2 separate regions of the Homo sapiens genome follow, and region 2 is linked to region 1. The links are contacts of gene promoters, found by promoter capture Hi-C in blood cells and fetal thymus (Javierre and others, 2016). All regions are on one chromosome and are shown on one strand. Each heading gives the region's core, a stretch centred on a gene start or on the middle of the fragment in contact. The rest is flanking DNA. Distances are from core to core; before and after follow the strand shown. Region 1 holds the start of DNAJB13 (DnaJ heat shock protein family (Hsp40) member B13). Region 2 overlaps PPME1 (protein phosphatase methylesterase 1).

Region 1 (2,700 bases), core at 169-2,668:
GTGCATGGAAAACAGGGCTCTGCTGTACTCAGAGAGGTGGAGCATAACTCCCTCACTGTAAGGGTGGGCCGCACAGTGACTGCCTTCCAAAGAGTGCAATACAGCAAGTGGGGAAGGAGGGCTGGCGCGGTGGCTCACGCCTGTAATCCCAACACTTTGGGAGGCTGAGGTGGGTGGATCACTTGAGGTCAGGAGTTTGAGACCAGCCTGGCCAACATGGTGAAACCCCGTCTCTAGTAAAAATAACAAAAATTAGCCGGGCATGGTGGCACATGCCTGTAATCTCAGCTACTTGGGAGGCTGAGGCAGGAGAATCGCTGGAACCCGGGAGGCAGAGGTTGCAGTGAGCTGAAATTGTGCCACTGCACTCCAGCCTGGGCGATGGAGTGAGACTCCATCTCAAAAAACAAAAACAAACAAACAAAAAGAAAAACACCAAACAAATTCCAATTGCAGGACATTCTACAAAACACCTGACCATTATTACTTAAACTGTCAAGGTCATCAAAAACATGGAAAGTCTGAGAAACTGTCACAGTCAGGAGGCACCAGAGGAGATGCAACAGCTAAGTGTAACGTGGCATCCTGGATGGGGTCCGGAACAGAAATAAGATATTAGGTTAAAACAACTAGTAAATCTGAATAAAATGTGGATTTTAGTTAATAATAATGTATCAATATTGGTCATTATTTGTGACAAATGTACCATACTAATGTAAGATGTTAATAATAGGGGAATGTGAATGCAGTGGCTCACACCTGTAATCCCAGCACTTTGGGAGGCCAAGCCGAGCCCAAGAGTTCAAGACCAGTCTGGGCAACATGGTGAAACCCCATCTCTACAAAACATACAAAAATTAGCCAGGCATGGTAGTGCACGCCTGTGTCTCAGCTACTTGGAAGGCTGAGGTGGAAGAATCCCTTGAGCCTGGGAGGTTGAGACTGCAGTGAGGTGTGATCCTGCCACTGCCCACCAGCCTGGGTGACAGAGTGAAGACCCTGTCTCAAAAACATGATAATGATAATAATAATAATAAAATAGGAGAATGTGGATGTGAGGTATATGGGAACTCTCTGTACTGTCTTCTCAACTTTTCTAAACTCTAAAACTGTTCTAAAATAAATGTATTTTTAAAAAATTAGCCAAATGCATTTCTTCTAAAACCTTTTTATTAAAACTAATTACTGCTCTCTTTAAAAACAAAAACAAAATAAAACAGAGCCCTGTGAGTCTTCAATTTCCGAGTTGAGTGACCTTTCACAGGGTCGCAGAATCAGCCCCAGCTCTCCCCCAGTCCTTTCACTGACTCCTCTCTGTGGCAGAGCTGAAATTTGTTTAGGGAAGTGGGACTACAACTCCCAGAGTGCACCTGTGCGGTTGTCAGGAGCAACCAAGGAAGCCAACTAACAGCCTTGCTAGAGTCTGAGGACTATCCAGGGCCTGACTGCCAGCTAGCCAGCCATGGGCCAGGATTATTACTCTGTGCTCGGGATCACTCGCAATTCAGAGGATGCCCAGATCAAGCAGGCGTAAGTTGGGGTGGGAGCCAGGCCTTAGGGGTGTGCTGGGGCAGGCCCTGCCCTCTTCTCTTCCAAAACGAGCTTTCCTGCACAGCTTAGCGCAGACAAGGTAAACCTTGTTCCTCCTTTCACTTCTTGCATACCTGTATCCTGGCTTTGGTCTGGGTCAGGGCCCAGGTTGGAAATTTGAACTCTTTAGTTCCTCAATCTGCTCCCAACCCATCTCCCTTTATGCTCCATGCCCTATATCCTCTCCTGGGTGCCTTGCTTTTCCCAGCAATGAAGTGGGGACAAAGGAGCCATTTGAACTTTATCTTGAATATTATGGAGAACCAGAGGCTTGTGAACAAGGGAGTGGCCAGGCCAGATGGATGTTTTAAATTCAATTCTGGCCATGATGGAGGTTTTCAGCATTGACTAAACTACATTCCTGAATACTTCCATCGGATCTTAAGGACGTTCTGGCTCGTTCCTAAGAAAGCCTACAACAGGAGTCAGTACATTTTTCTGAAAACATGTTTTTGTTTTTTGTTTTGAGACGGAGTCTTGGTCTTGTTGCCCAGGCTGGAGTGCAATGGCGTGATCTCGGCTCACCGCAACCTCCACCTCCTGGGTTCAAGCGATTCTTCTGCCTCAGCTTCCCAAGTAGCTGGGATTACAGGCATGCACCACCATGCCCAGCTAATTTTGTATTTTTAGTAGAGATGGGGTTTCTCCTTTTTGGTCAGGCTGGTCTCAAATTCCCGACCTCTGGTGATCCACCCGCCTCAGCCTTCCCAAGTGCTGGGATTATAGGTGTGAGTCACCGCACCTGGCCAAAAACATGTTTTTTTTTTTAACAAATATTTATTGAGCGTCTACCACAAGGGTTGAGAGGGTACTTCACTCCTGCTGCAGTGGTAGCAGCTGGAGATAAATGTCGGAATCCGACATCGACACTCCCTTACCTCATGCAGCTAGATTTTGTTGCTGAATAGATGTTGAATAAGTCACCACAACTGTGATGAGTGTTACAGAAGAGGAAGTATGGGGGGCTGTGGAAGTTATCTTGGAAGGAGAGAGACCCTTTAGGAGGCTGTTCGTGGTAATCAAGGCAAAAGATGAGGCCAGAGAAAGGGGAGGGAATGGACTTGGTAATTAAGTGGATCACTGGAGGGTGAAGAAAAGAGGAGTCCAGGA
Region 2 (2,700 bases), core at 172-2,671, 230 kb after region 1:
AATCCTGAAGTCTGCTGCTTAATGGCATGCCTTGGAGTAAGGAACACTTCAGACCTACCACAACCCTCAGCCAGCCATCTGGTTGCTTTCTTTTCATTCTCTTCAAAGTACTGCTAATAAGGACATTTTAAAAACAGTGGTGCCTTGATTTAAATAGCTGGCTGCAATTAAACTTCAGTATTTAGCCTCCACTACCAGACTCCTAGACTTTGACAGAATTTGTGACAACAAGTGATTAAGACTGCTACTGTGCCCATTCATGACTCATCAATAACTCTCTTAACAGACTTAAGCAGCCTAGATGTTGATGTGTTATTCCTATTTAGATTTGAGACATTCATGTAAAAACATACAACTTACATTTCTTGGTTATTGTTCTCTAGGCAAGGAAGGTTTTTCCTCCTTCCCTTTCTCCCCTTTCTCTCCTTCCTCCTGGCTTTCCTTAGGATTTGATCATATAATTTTGTTGGTTTTGGTCATTATCTCCTAGTAGGCATATCACATTGTAGACAAGCAGAACATTCTCTATTCTCCTTAGTCCTCTGAATTGTAATTATTGGTCAACTGTGTATTCCTCAAAACTGTTGAGGTTCATAAGGGTAGGAATTGTGTCTGAATTTTGCTGGTGCTTAGAATGCTGTCTCCTTTAGTGCTAACTGAACGAGAAACCCAAATCCTGGCCTATTTAACCCCGTTCTATAAGAACAACGTTATTTCCCCATCAGTTCCCTTAAGATGGTATAACTAGGGCTATACTGCCTTTCTCCTAAAAGCGGTTATACTTCATAGAATAATAGAATCTCTATTTCAATACCAGCTTTTAGGTAAAATGTATTGTGTTTACAATATGTTACTTTGAGATTTAAAATAATTATATGGTCGAAACTCTTGTAATAGGTCTTGTAATAGGCTTGTAATAGGTCTCATGATATGTACAGATTCAGGCTTGTTACTTTTATTTTATCAAAATTTGACAATTTATGTCTTCCTCTTTGATTCCCCAAACCTGAAAGCAAGTCCACTATTATAAGACAGCAAATGTCAATTAGCAATTATTTTCACACTAGCCTTATTTTATAGTATTCAATTTTTCTGCCCTTGCCCAATTTATCACTTATTCTCTAAGAGCGAAGACTATTTTCCAAGCACCTTCACCAAGTTTAGGGACCAGAGCAAGTGGTCCACCATTAAAGGCTAGTGTTAAAAGCGCTCCAAAGTCATGTCCTAAGCAGTGGTAATTTCCTAAGTGTTTCTTGCACTTAACAATTGCCAAGTTTATTTTGTTGGCAATGCCTTCCATTTTCTTCACTTTTTTTTTTTTTTTTTTTTTTTTTGAGACGGAGTCTCGCTTTGTCGCCCAGGTCGGACTGCGGACTGCAGTGGCGCAATCTCGGCTCACTGCAAGCTCCGCTTCCCGGGTTCACGCCATTCTCCTGCCTCAGCCTCCCGAGTAGCTGGGACTACAGGCGCCTGCCACCGCGCCCGGCTAATTTTTTTTTTGTATTTTTAGTAGAGACGGGGTTTCACCTTGTTAGCCAGGATGGTCTCGATCTCCTGACCTCATGATCCACCCGCCTCGGCCTCCCAAAGTGCTGGGATTACAGGCGTGAGCCACCGCGCCCGGCCCACTTTTTCAACTCCTATCCATCTTTAAAACTCATGAAGCACTTTCAGACTACTTTAGTTCATTCATTTGCTCTCTCTTCTCTGAGCACCTATAACAATTTTGGCATCTCCACTCATCAATTGTTTGCATTGGTATTGTACTTTTTCACTGTTACTGTGTCAGACTTATCGAAGATAATTTTATGCAGATTTTTGTGTGTTTCCTCAATAACATTTAGAACTCCTGTAGTGCAAGGACCTTTGTTTCTTTGTGCTTTCTACTGTAACACAGTTAAATGTTTTTGTAAAATTTAATTTAATGGACACATAGCACAAATTCATTTAAAATAAAGTTCTGAGGCTTTTTCTGATCAGTCCAGCTTGCACCGATTTTTCTATTTTCTGTCCTTTGGTGGCACCTGTCATTTTACCAGGAATCAGCAAACATTTTCTGTTAAAAGCCAGATAGTATTTTAGGCTTTGTGGGCCATGTTAGTCTCTGTTGCAGCTACTCAGCTCTGCTGTTTTAGAGTGAAAGTAGCCACAGACAATATGTAACTGAATGTGTCTGTGTTCTAACAACACTTTATGGACACTGAAATTTGAATTCCACATAATTTCCACATGTCATTAGTCTCTCTTCTCCCCCTGCCCTCCACCTTTTAAAAATGTAAAGATCATTCTCTGATCCTGGGCCATGCAAAAATAGGTGGTGGGCTGGATTTCCCGTAGGCTGTAGTTTGCCAACCCAGTTAGTTCTATACTTCTACTGTCTTGTAGTAGAAGGAAGGTAGGTTTTAAAATCAACAAACTAGGATTCTCTTCCTGGCTTTACTACTTACCGCTTAACTGGTGCAAACTTGACTTTATTTTTTTTTAAATGTAGATAATAATGCTAGCCTCATAGAATTTTTGAGGAGAAAATGAGATGATTTATGTGTAGAAATATTATTTAAATTGGAAAACTGTCTAATGGAAACTTACTGTATTTCCTCAATTCTAAGATACATTTCTTTTTTACATTTAAATTGATAATGTCTTTTTTTTTTTGAGACAGAGTTCTCACTCTGTCACCCAGGCTGGAGTGCAGTGGCA

What was found. Contacts are between HindIII fragments. The CHiCAGO score rates a contact against its expected background, and 5 or more counts as called.
Region 2: a contact is called between a fragment that was not itself captured here and the fragment with the promoter of DNAJB13 in region 1, in 1 of 17 cell types (erythroblasts). The highest score is 5.1, in erythroblasts.

Annotation. Positions count from the first base shown.
Region 1 is chr11:73,949,608-73,952,307 of GRCh38, forward strand. DNAJB13 (DnaJ heat shock protein family (Hsp40) member B13) reads left to right here and starts at 1,419. Exons shown (of 8, transcript NM_153614.4): 1 at 1,419-1,530. The coding sequence starts at 1,463. The HindIII fragment of the contact is 10,163 bases long and covers 1-2,700 here.
Region 2 is chr11:74,179,722-74,182,421 of GRCh38, forward strand. The region is part of intron 1 of PPME1 (protein phosphatase methylesterase 1); the gene reads left to right. Among named protein-coding and RNA genes, the nearest start is that of PPME1, 9.8 kb to the left of the region's middle. The HindIII fragment of the contact is 5,755 bases long and covers 1-2,700 here.